2 separate regions of the Homo sapiens genome follow, and region 2 is linked to region 1. Evidence: promoter capture Hi-C in 16 types of primary human blood cells and fetal thymus (Javierre and others, 2016). All regions are on one chromosome and are shown on one strand. The core of a region is centred on a gene start or on the middle of the fragment in contact, and the rest is flanking DNA. Distances in the headings are between cores, read along the strand shown.

What was found. Contacts are between HindIII fragments. The CHiCAGO score rates a contact against its expected background, and 5 or more counts as called.
Region 2: a contact is called between a fragment that was not itself captured here and the fragment with the promoter of ARRDC1 in region 1, in 1 of 17 cell types (fetal thymus). The highest score is 5.1, in fetal thymus.

What each region holds. Positions count from the first base shown.
Region 1 is chr9:137,603,027-137,609,031 of GRCh38, reverse strand. ARRDC1 (arrestin domain containing 1) reads right to left here and starts at 3,346. Exons shown (of 8, transcript NM_152285.4): 1 at 3,197-3,346. The coding sequence starts at 3,314. LOC124902318 (a long non-coding RNA gene) reads left to right here and starts at 3,694. Exons shown (of 3, transcript XR_007061885.1): 1 at 3,694-3,735. RefSeq lists silencers at 2,675-2,944, 2,955-4,084. The HindIII fragment of the contact is 16,425 bases long and covers 1-5,801 here.
Region 2 is chr9:136,240,092-136,245,467 of GRCh38, reverse strand. The region is part of intron 1 of QSOX2 (quiescin sulfhydryl oxidase 2); the gene reads left to right. Among named protein-coding and RNA genes, the nearest start is that of QSOX2, 3.0 kb to the left of the region's middle. RefSeq lists a silencer at 1-128. The HindIII fragment of the contact is 3,219 bases long and covers 2,007-5,225 here.

The DNA.
Region 1 (6,005 bases), core at 2,097-4,596:
TCGCGAAAACCGTCATGGGACATTGACTCCACAAAAACAAACAGTATGCAACTGACCCTTGGGTCATCCTAAGGGTCCAGGTTCTGTGATCTTCCCAACGCCCATGCAGATGGCCCCGTTTTGCACATACACCAAGGCTCTTTGAGATGACTCTGCCAGAGTAAGCAGCCTCCAACCACTGTCCAAAGTGAAACCTGTCCCGAGCTGCCCCACACACTCCTCAGTAAGAACACGGGAGGCAAGGGGCTCCCGCACAGCTGCCAGCTGCTTCCCTGCCAAAACACCTGGAGCTGCTCCTCTGCCTCTCAGCAACTGCTTCAGGTCAGGCTGGGTGAATTTCCCAGGGAGCCCGTTTTCACTGGCCAGGCCAATGGCAGCGGCCATGTTTCTGCCTTTTCAAATCATCGAATCAGGCAGGACCACAGGATGCAGTTCTGCCCACGGAGAAGCCAGAGCAATACATGGGGTCCATTGTGAGGGGTCTCCCTGCTGCTGGCGGCATACGACCCCGCTCCCTCTTCTTTCCAGCTTGCAGACTGCTTGTGATGGCAGAACACGCTGAAGGGAACCGAGCCTTTCGCAACAGGAAAGCCACCAGGCAGGGCTTGGCTGCAGGACTGAGTGGCTCAGTGGCAGTCCCCTAGTCAGAGTGTGACTTCTTCCGCCTTCTGGACTTGAACGTTGCACCTCTTTGCAGGGGCCCTGCAAGCCCTGTCCCTCCTCCCCCATGCAGGTTTAAAAAATGTTTCCTGGCCAGGCACGGTGGCTCACGCCTGTAATCCCAGCACTTTGGGAGGCCGAGGCGGGCGGATCACGAGGTCAGGAGATCCAGACCCTCCTGGCTAACACGGTGAAACCCCGTCTCTACTAAAAATACACAAATTAGCCGGGTGTGGTGGCGGGCGCCTGTAGTCCCAGCTCTTAAGGAGGCTGAGGCAGGAGAATGGCGTGAACCGGGGAGGCGGAGCTTGCAGTGAGCCGAGATCGCGCCGGCACACTCCAGCCTGGGCGACAGAGGGAGACTCCGTCTCGAAAAAATAAATTAAAAAAATAAAAATAAAAAATGTTTCCTGTGTTCAGATGCACAAGCAAGGACAAGCTGCTGGAGGCTGCAGGCCTCTCTGACTCTAAGGAAGATCATGACTGGGCTGCGTTCTCAAGTGACCACTGGAACTTTCTTCTCCAGCTGGGGCTCCCACCTGTTCAGCAGCCCCTCCCTTGCACCACCTGCACTTGGACCATGAAGACCCACCCACTCCTCATCCTCATCCCAAAGGACTCACGCCTGCCACAGAAGCTGTGACCTGTAAGCCACTCCCCCAGTCCTGTTTCCAAATCTGTATCATGAGAGTAACAACCGTGCCACTTGCCAGGGCGCTGAGGGTTAACTGAGGCTGGCCCGTGGCACGTGGAGAGAATTGCATCGGGCCCACCATGAGTGCTCCGAGAACCACTGTCGGCCCTGGTCGCCCATCCCAGTAACAGCAGAACAAGAAGTGGTCCTGCCTGAACCCCAGCCCTGGACTGGGCCAGCCTGAGCTCCAGAAAACTGCTCCCTCCCAGGCCTCCCTCCGCGTCAGCCCTTTAGACAGCCGGTGTCCTCACGGCTGGGTGCTGACTGTCACCGACACTCATCGGCAGAGTAAGTGAGCAAGCTCTGGGGCCCAGGCAGGGCTGCTGTCCTCCTGGGGGCTGAGGGCCTCCCTACTGGCTCCTAGCAGGATTGACAAGCATCCTCTGAATGAGGAAAAGAAACCATGGTCCTTCTGTTCCCATCCCAGGCAGGGCTGGGGGAAACCCCCGGGGGCCCCGGTACACCCTCCCACCTCACTTGCAGCAGCCTGAATCATGTGCTCTCTGGCCCATCAGGGCCCATCTCCTACTCCTTAGCTCACGACCCTCCTTTTTCTCCCTCATTCAGACCAGCCTCTGTGAGGTAGGACCATCAGCCAGTGCTCCCTCGGCTCTTGGGCCAGCTGCCCAAAGTGCTGGGATTACAGGCGTGAGCATTCAACCCACCCACCACGTCCACCCGGAGGCCAGGGGAGCCTGCACACCCAGGCCAGTCACGCACCGCGGGGCCGTCCCTTCCCTGTGGTAAGCAATGGCCTGCTCACCCCAGGCCACGCCAGGGGAAGGACGACAGGGTCCTGCACAGCCCTCAACCAGGATCCAGCCGGCCTCACCACACACCACACCTGTACCCAAGAGATGTGTGTGCTATCTCTGCCCTGCCACGGCCACACCTGCCCCCACCCAGACCCCAAACTCAAGGTTGGGACAGAGGAAGGGAGGCTGTGGGGTCATCCCAGGAGGCCCAGTGGGGCCAGGAGCCTGACAGAAGCACCTACCACCCGGCTTCTTCCGAGGCCCCACAGCCTCAGGCGGTGCAGGGTCAGGGCCACAGCACCATCACCTGTCCCAGGAGGCTGAGAGGACAGAACAGAGACTGTGGGTTCTCAGCAGGCACAAAATCGGTGCTGTTACCCACGCGCGGGCCCAGCGGTCAAGGTCCAGCGGCAAGTCCAGGGGCTGTGGCACAGGCCAAGCAGCCCAGGTGGTTCCCACAGGAGGCCAAGGTAGAGAAGTCCCCGGCAGGGACGCGGCACTCACAGCCAAGGGCCGGGCAGAGGCAGCCTCACCTCGCGGGCCGGCCCTCACCTCCAGGGCGCCCTGCCAGCGGCCACTGCAGCAACCCGATACCCAGTCCCCGAGGCCCAGGCGTCCACCTCGGCGGGGGGCCGGCGAGGCCTGCTGGCGGGTGGCAGGGGGCGCAGGGAGCCGCAGCAGGTGTCTGCACCCCGCCGGGACCGCACGCCCGCGCCAGGAGCGGCTCTGCAGCGGGAGCGCCTGCGCCGGGAGCCAGGGTGCGGGAAGGAGCCCAGCAGGTGCGAGCGCGGACGGGGAGGGTCGCAGGCCTGCGTGCGCCCGCGCTCAGGGCGTCCTCCACAGTGGACCCGCTTCAGGCCCCGCCGGGACCCCGCCGCCCCTCGGCGAGAGGGCAGGAAGGGCAGACGCGGAAGGGCGGCGCCGCCCGGACCTCCCCGGCGCCGCCGAGCCCGCTTCCCAGCAGTCCCGGGCGGCGAAGACAGCGACTCCGCGGGCCCAACCCGGGGCCAGGCGACGGCAGCCGCTTCCGGGAGCCCTGGCCCCGCGCAGGTGCGGCCAAAGGCCCTCCCCGAGGACCCGCGCCCACCTCGGAACGGCAGCGGTGCCCCCAGGCGCACGCGCACGGTCCCAGCCAACGGCTCCCCGGGGCTGTAGACGACGCGGCCGTGGCTCAGGCTGATCTCGAAGAGCTGCACTCGCCCCATGCCGCGGCCTCACCGGCCAGCCGCGCAGCGACGCCCCCGCCCGCCGCCCGCGAGTCCCGGCTCCGAGGCCCGGCCCCGCCCCCTCCTATGCCCCGCCCCCATCCGTCCCAATCCCGGCCTCCACCCCCATCCGGCCCCTCCCAGGCCCTGCCCCGCCCCACGGCCCCGCCCAGCCCCCCGGCCGCCCCGTAGCCCGCGGACTGCCGCTCGGAGGCCCGGCCCAGCCCCTATTCCCCGCCCCATCCGTCCGTGTGGCCCCGCCCCCTCGTTATTCCCCGCCCCTCTGACAGCCTCCTCGCCCCGCCCCCGCCCTTCGCCCCTGCCTCGCCTTCCCAGCTCCGCCCCTGCCTCGGCCGCCCCACCCCTGCCCCGCCCCCCGGCCGCGCTCATCCATCCCCGGCCCTGGCCCTGTCCCGGCTGGGTAGGTGCTGCGCTGCGTCGGGCGCCGCTTAAGGGACTTGAGGCGCAAGCGTCCCGTGCGTCCCCCACGGAGGGAGTCACCGCCGCGTCTCCGTCGGGGGGCAGGGCTGGGGGCGGGGCCGAGGCGAGCTCTGAGACTGGGAAGGTCTCCCCGCTGCACTCTGCTGCGGGCAGAACCCACTCCTCCGCCCCCACCCTCCGCCCGTCCCGCCCAGGGGTCTCCCTCACCCCGAGTCGCGGAAAAACGTCACGGGGCCGCGCGGGCGTCCTGGGCGGGGATGCTCCGCCGCGTAGGACCTGCCCCGCCTCAACCCCCACCCCCGGCTCCTGCCCCGCACCCCCAACCTTCTCCGCACCTACCTCGCGTCCCAGCACCTGTCGCGCCCCTCCGGAACCTGCCCGCCCTCCCGCCTTCCCGGTACCTGCCTACCCCCGCAACTGTCCCGGCCCCCAACACCTGCATCGCCCAACCCCTTCCCCCCCCGCCCCCTGCCTTCCCCGCACCTGCCCGGAGTCCCAGCACCTGCCCCGCCCCCCGCTATCCCCCTCCTTGCTGGCCTGATGGGGTGTGGGCCCAAGGGAGCCACACTTGGGCGGAGGCCCTTGGGCAGGGGTCCGCAGCAGAAGGGTCGGGGGCCAGGTGGGGCGAGGACTTGGATCACTTGAAACCAGGAGGAACACACTCCCATTTATCTTTTTTAAAGGGTCCCTTTGTAGAGAGTGAGCCGCGGGGGGTGGGACTCAAATACCCAGGGGACCTAAGGCGGGAGAGACCGGTTGGGTAGTCCTGGAGAGGGAAGGCGTCGCTCGACAAGGACCAGCTCACCACGGAGTGGGTGTGCGGGCCCCAGTGCTGCGAGTTTTTCTAGGACAGCCGGTGAAGAGGGTGGCCTTCTCTGATGGGGAGGACGGACCTAGATACACATGGTTTGGGGGTGGGAGGGTCATCACATGCAGAGTCTGAGGTGCCACTGATCCCCAATGGACCAAGTACTTCCGTGCATGAGCCTGGGAGTCAAGCACTAAAATGTTGCCATCCCTAGTTGGTAGAAGGTAACAGGTCAGGGAGGAGGAGTCTGGCACCCCAGCAAAGAGAAAGGGGCTCACAGGCTGGAGGGGCCCCCGGGCCAGGCTGGGAGAGGCCCTGAAGCCCCAGGCCCAGCTCACTCCCTTAGGATTCCGATGTTTCCGGAGGTGGGTCTAACTGGCCATGCTCCAGACACTTTCCTGCCAAGGCTATGCACAGGCAGAATTCCCGAACAAGAGAGAAGGGTGCCATGGGATGGCAAGGATTGTGGACAGCCCTCCCGAATGGCAGTCGGCCATGCCAGAAGTCAGAAAGAAGGTGTTTCACCGGGCGCGGTGGCTCGCACCTCTAATCCCAGCACTTTGGGAGGCCGAGGTGGACGGATCACGAGGTCAGGAGATCGAGTCCATCCTGGCTAACATGGTGAAACCCCGTCTCTACTAAAAATACAAAAAGAAAAAAAAAAATTAGCCGGGCGTGGTGACAGGCGCCGTGGTCCCAGCTACTTGGGAGGCTGAGGCAGGAGAATGGCGTGAATCCAGGAGGCGGAGCTTGCAGTGAGCCAAGATCACGCCACTGCACTCCAGCCTGGGCAACAGAGTGAGACTCCATTTCAAAAAAAAAAAACAGAAAAAGAAAAAAAAGAAAGTGTTTCAAGCAAGGGACAGACAGACTGTATTGCAAGCTACTGAGATGGAAGACAATGGACACAGAACACAGGTGGCCTTTATCCCAGGTCAGCCACAATCTAAGCCCCACAGGACTCTGCACATCCTTGATTCTGACCCTATCTCCCACCCATCCTGTGTTCCAGAAACCACCACCAGCACCAACCGCCCTGTCATTAGACTCTTCTTCTCCAAGCATACTTCTAGCTGCACTCTCATGAAAACCTGGCTTCCCCTGGAGCTTTCGGGTGTAGAGATATCTTTTCGCAGGATCCCTCTACCTCTGGGTCTGTAGGTGGGGTTGGGGCCCTCCTGGCTCCTTCCTAACACTACCAGGCCATTCTCCACCCTGGGAGCTACCATGTGTAAGCTTCCTGGTCTCAGAATCACCAGCACCACCTTCGCTCTGGTCGGCATCTTCATTTCTTGGTGATTTTAGCTCCTAACTCACTGTCATTCCCTCCATCTCCAAGTGTGGAAACTCAGTGCTTCTGAATCCACACAGGCAATCCTTCCAGCCTCCTGCCCTATATCCTAAAAGTACCTGGGTTTTGTTTGAATCAGGTATAGTAAAGT
Region 2 (5,376 bases), core at 2,367-4,866, 1.4 Mb after region 1:
CGCCCCCGCGCGGGGACCCCCCGACCCCCGGGACCGCGGCCTTCCGGGACCCCTTGCGACCGCCCCAGAAGGCGGGTCCCGGGGCCCCTCCCCCGTATTTCTTTCCTTACCGCAGAGCCAGTCCCTGCCCCACAGAGGCACCCGACTCGGACCAACCCTGGCCTTTCCAGGGGCGGGAGACTAAGCCAGCTGCTCCCCATGTCTCTCCCAGTTAATCCCCGTTAGATCCTGACGAGTTGGGCTGTCTGAAGTCAAAATGAAACCATTCTCCCGCAGCCCTCACCGCACGCTTGGGGATAGGGAAGCCCTCCCGTATCCCAGCTCTCAAAATACCTATGTTTTGAGCCCCAAGAACTTCATTGACCTTCCAGGCCTCCTACCCTACCTGTTTCCTAGCGTCCACACACCCCATCCCCAGTGCCCAGAATTCCTGTTCTCTGAGGATCCCTCATTCCTATTCCACACTCGTAGCCACCCCATTCCCTTTGAACCTTCATCATTAACTTTCTGGTTCGGATCGCTGGCCATATAGTGGGTGCTCAAAGTGAACCCACAACTTAGAAGTCCAAATACTCTGGAGACTTCTCTATAATACCCCAAAACAACCTATAAAGCAATTTTTTTAACTCTACAAAGAATTTCATTGGTGGGCTCCTTGATCACAGATGCACAGCCTTTGAGAAATCTTTCACCAAACTGCTGGTAGTGTTCCGCACTTTATTGTTTAGTGCTTTCATCTGGTCGCACGTTGTTAACCAGTCACGAAGTTACTCGCCTGCTCTACAGGTTAGAGTTGGCGTGGGAGGGGGCATTCACAACACCCTTCCCTTAAAATGGTATTTAAATCACTGAAGTAGGAGGTCCTCCCGACCCAGTGAGGTTTGGCAGGACTTCCTGTGTTGTGCTAACCTCAAATTACATGTTTCAGTGGGCAAGATCTGTAACAAATTGCTACTCTTTCTTCCTGCACCTTTGTTTTTATGCCTTACACCCAATCCTGCTGTATTTTTCTCATCGCAAACAGATTTGTAAAGAAACTTTTTTTCAAGTCTAAGTAGGGCTTTTGTATGTTACTGTAAATGGTTATCTTTAAAATGCATTCTCCTCTTAGAGAGCTGGGGCCTTTTGATTCTAATGGATTCCTCCTCTTTGATCTCATGTTTTCTTATGTCCCTGTTGACCTGACTCAGAACTGAGGTCAGAGACTGGAAGAGATGGACAGAAAAACTGTTCAGTGGGGTTTTTAGACACTGCTTTTAGGAAAACAAACAAGTAATTCAATCACGTAGGGAACCCTTCAGTTCTTGTGTGTTATTCAGTGGCAGAAACAGATATGTTCATTAAAATGCAGGTGGCCCTGGCAGGACTTGGTCACTTTTTTTGTGGGTTTTGGTTTTGATTTTTTTTTTTCAGTTGAGTCGCTGAAGTCTAAAGATCGTACCAGATTCAAATATTGCAAATTCTGTAACCGAAGCAGCACATAGGCAGCCTTGAGAACTGTCCCTGGAGCTCAGAAGGAAGGCCCCTCCTGAGAGCCACACAGTAACGTCCATACCCAGTGGTGTGATGAACTCAACTCAGTAAGCCTCCTTTAGTGAGGCTGACTGTCTTCCCAGTCACGACAGGAAGAACAGGCTTGTGCCTGAGACTGAGACTGGAGGAGGATATGGCTGAAAGTGAAAGACAGCGGTGACCTGACCAGGCAGCAGGGAGAGGGCTTCAGGGAGCCCAGGCAGAGGGTCCTGTTGGCTAAAAAGCCAAACTATAAAATACTGAAAGAGGTTTGTTCTGAGCCAATAAGTGTAGTGGCCATGGCCAGGGGAACAGTGTCAAGAGGTCCTAAGAAAGTGTGCTCTAGGCAGTCACGTTAATTTGATTTTATACATTTTAGGGAGACAGAAGTTATAGGCAGAGAGACATAAATCAGTACATGTAAGGTATAGGAAGGGGTAGGTTTACAGATCATAGGTGGATTCTGACTGGCAATTGATTGAAAGAGTTAAGCTTTGTCTAAAGACTTGAAGTCAGCAAAGAGAAATGCTTGAGTTAAGCTAAAGGGGCTGTGGAGGCCAAGGTTAAGTAGATGAAGCCTCACAGGCAGCAGCCTTGGGGAGAATAGAGGGTAAATGTCTCTTTTCAGACCTGAATGCTGTCAGACTCGTTAAATGTCTCCTAGATCCAGGAAAGACCTAGAAAGGGAGGGAGATTCTCTACAGATGCAAATTTCCCTCACAAAAGACAGCTTTGCAGGACCATTTCAAATATGTCAGGGAAATAAATGTATTTGGGGGTGAAATATTTTGATTTCCTGCAGGGTGTGCTATTTGTCATGTGGTGCTGTACCCGAGTCAGGCTGGAGTTTGGTGTCGTTGCTGCTGAGGCTGTGCTGTCTGTCTGTGATCTCTGTTTCATCACGCTGGTCAGCTCTGCCTAAACTCCAAAGGGAGGTGATGTAACCAGGCGTGTCTGACCTCCCTTGCCGTCAGGGCCTGGAATTTCTTTCCTCAGGTTGCCCTGGGGTCTCCTTGGCCAAGAGGGGGTTCAATTCAGTCAGTTAGGGGACTCAGGATTTTATTTTTGGTTTACAGTCCTGAGAGCCAAGCTGTGCCCATGAGGCTTGTGGGAGGTAGAGTCCGGGTAGAAAGGGATGAAAGGCCCTTGGCACTGAGGAGTCCCCGGAGCTGTTCTAAGGCTGGGACTCTCAAAGTAGGGCCACTTAGGGCCTTGTTAGAAATGCCTGCTTCTCCACAGCCCCAGCCCAGACCTGCCAGCTCAGAACTGTCTGCTTGGCGCCTGGCTCCCTGTCTGTCATCCCTGCGTGGAGCTGTCCCACAGGGATAGGGCGCCCATTGCCCGTGGCAGTGCAGGGGTCTGGCTGCATGCAGGCATTCCCGTTGTCAACATTCTCATGTTTTCTTATGTCCCTGTTGACCTGACTCAGATCAGTCACCTGTGGCCCTGATCAATCACCTGTGACTTAGGTCATCCTGCTGATCCCCTGGGGGCACACAGGCCATGGCTTGGGCCCCCACTTCTACCTAGAGTGTCCAGCCGCCTTCTCCCACTGGTCCCCCTGGCCAGCGCCCGCCACGCCCTGCGTTCTTCATGCCTGTGGCTGCTGGAGAGGATGGTTAGGTGTGGGCTCTGCTTCCCAGGAGCCTCCAGCTGGAAGGAGCAGGACAGGCCAGGGCACCTTTGTTTTCCTCAGAAATTTGGATTGAACTTTAGCTCTTGACTGGCTTTTTCAAGGCTGGGAAAATAAATGTTTTTTCTTATAAGAAGGTGGCTTAAGAAACAAAAGTTGTACTGTTTGGTGTGACCAAGTGTCATTCTAGTGTTTGTGGAGATTTGGCTTAAGCCTGTCACTTCTAAGTACTTTGCAGAACAAAACCTTGTTGGGTTCCTGAAGATCTGCCTGGCAGTGATGGTTGCTGGGTTTGTGATGGAAGATGAGGCACCAGGGCCTGGGGCTACACTTTGGCCCGTCTGACCGGTGAGATCTCCGAAATGCCTCTGCAGTCTTGAGTGGACAAGAGGGTGCACCCTAAAGGCAGGGCCTGTGTCCCCGTGCGCCCTCTGTGGCCCTGGTGCCTGTTCCCTCCCATCTCCTTCACTTGGTCAGCCTGAGAAAACAGGGCAGGCCACCACCCACAACAGGCTGAGTCCTCCTAGACCTGCCCTCAGGAGGGCGGGAACGCTTATGTTGTAGATGATAGCACATGAGGTTGCGTGGAACAGGCCGAGTCCTCCCACACCTGTCCTCAGGAGTGCGGGGGCGCTCATGTTGCAGGTGATAGCACGTGAGGTTGCGTGGGATAGTCACGGTCACGCAGCTGAGTGACAGGCCGGGATGGGTGTCCAGGTGTGGGTGACCTGGAGCCATGGCAGTTCATTCCTGTGTCTTTGTAGAGGACAGGTGGGGGTTGGGAGCTGGACACATCCGACATCTCTTGAAGGAAGGGTAGGGCATTCTGTGATTGCTGCCAGCTCCTCTGTCCCACTTGGTCTGGTTTCTTGTCTACTCGACTAGGCTGCAGGCTTCTTGGAGATGAATTAGAACTTGGTGTTCCCCACAGGCTCATTGTCCGTTTACTGGAAAAAGAAACAATAAGGGCCAGAGGGAGGGGGACATGCAGGTGTCAGCGGGCATTTGGCGGGGCTGACGGCCCGTGAGAGCTGCCAGGTGCTCACTGGACTCGGGAGGATGGAGAGGGTGGAAGGAGGAAGAGTTGGGCAGTGGAGGCCTCCTGTCTCCTTACGGGCCCAGAAATGGCTTAATGTAGCCCCGCTGTGGCGACCACATGAGTATTTTACAGAAAGGATGGTGCATCGGAGCAGCCGGGCTCCCCGCTGGCCTCCCCAGTGGCTGTGGTTGGTGCGTCTGAGACTACACCGAGAGACCCAGGCCACTTACTTGTTGTTGAAGTAAGACGGGATGGTTTGCTAAGAGGGCCTTACAGCCACGTCCAGGGAGCCGTCTCCGCTGTGTCATGCCGGTCGTCGTGCCATGGGGTGACCCAGGTCATAAGCACTGCTTGGGCTTCCCTGACAGAGGACGGGCTGAGGGACTGTCATTCCCTACCAACAGATAAACAGCATTGGAATTGCTGTCACCTCGGAGCACCCTTCGAGGCTGAAGAACGTGTAGTTTTGGTTTACCAGAATTGAGTTAAATGCTGGGGATCAAGAGTCCATGGGACCCAGCCCTGCCCTCAGTCCCCAGATGAGGCGACCGTAGCGTGTGCCCGGGTTTTCTCAGACCAGCCCTTGGCAACTTCTAGGTGATTTGTGTTAGGCTCTCCTGGTCGCTAGGTGGGTTTCATTTCTACCCAGGCCTGTTATTCCAAACTTGTGCCTTGAACTTGGAGCTTAGCTAAGAAGACCTTTGCTCAGCCAAGAGGGGGCTCCACCCAGAGAGGGTCTTCTCCAGGGACTGGTATGCGGAGTTCGAGACCCCAGCATGGCCCTGACTCAGGAAGGAGAGGCTGCAGTGGACCTCTGTCCCTTAAACACAGCTCCCTAGTTGCCTTTCAACTTGGGAGATTGTTTTATCTTTACTGTAATCATTTTCTAGAACGATTTGATACTGGACTATACATTAGACTTCTGTAGACTTTTTCATTAGAACGTGACAAGCAGTAAAGAGTTAACCTTGTTAGATTCAGTATTAGAGTTATTTGACAAGCACATTTGAAATAAATGTTAATCTACTATATATAGAAGCTTAATTATTTCCCAAGTATTTTTAAGACTGGAGTCCTAAAATAGCCAGGCTCTTGAGCAGAAGTGAGAATAGGCCTGCGGTCTCATTTCTGCCTCCCTTTGGAACCCCCTGGCTGTGCTGGGTTGGGCACCCCCGCCCCTGCCACACCCTGT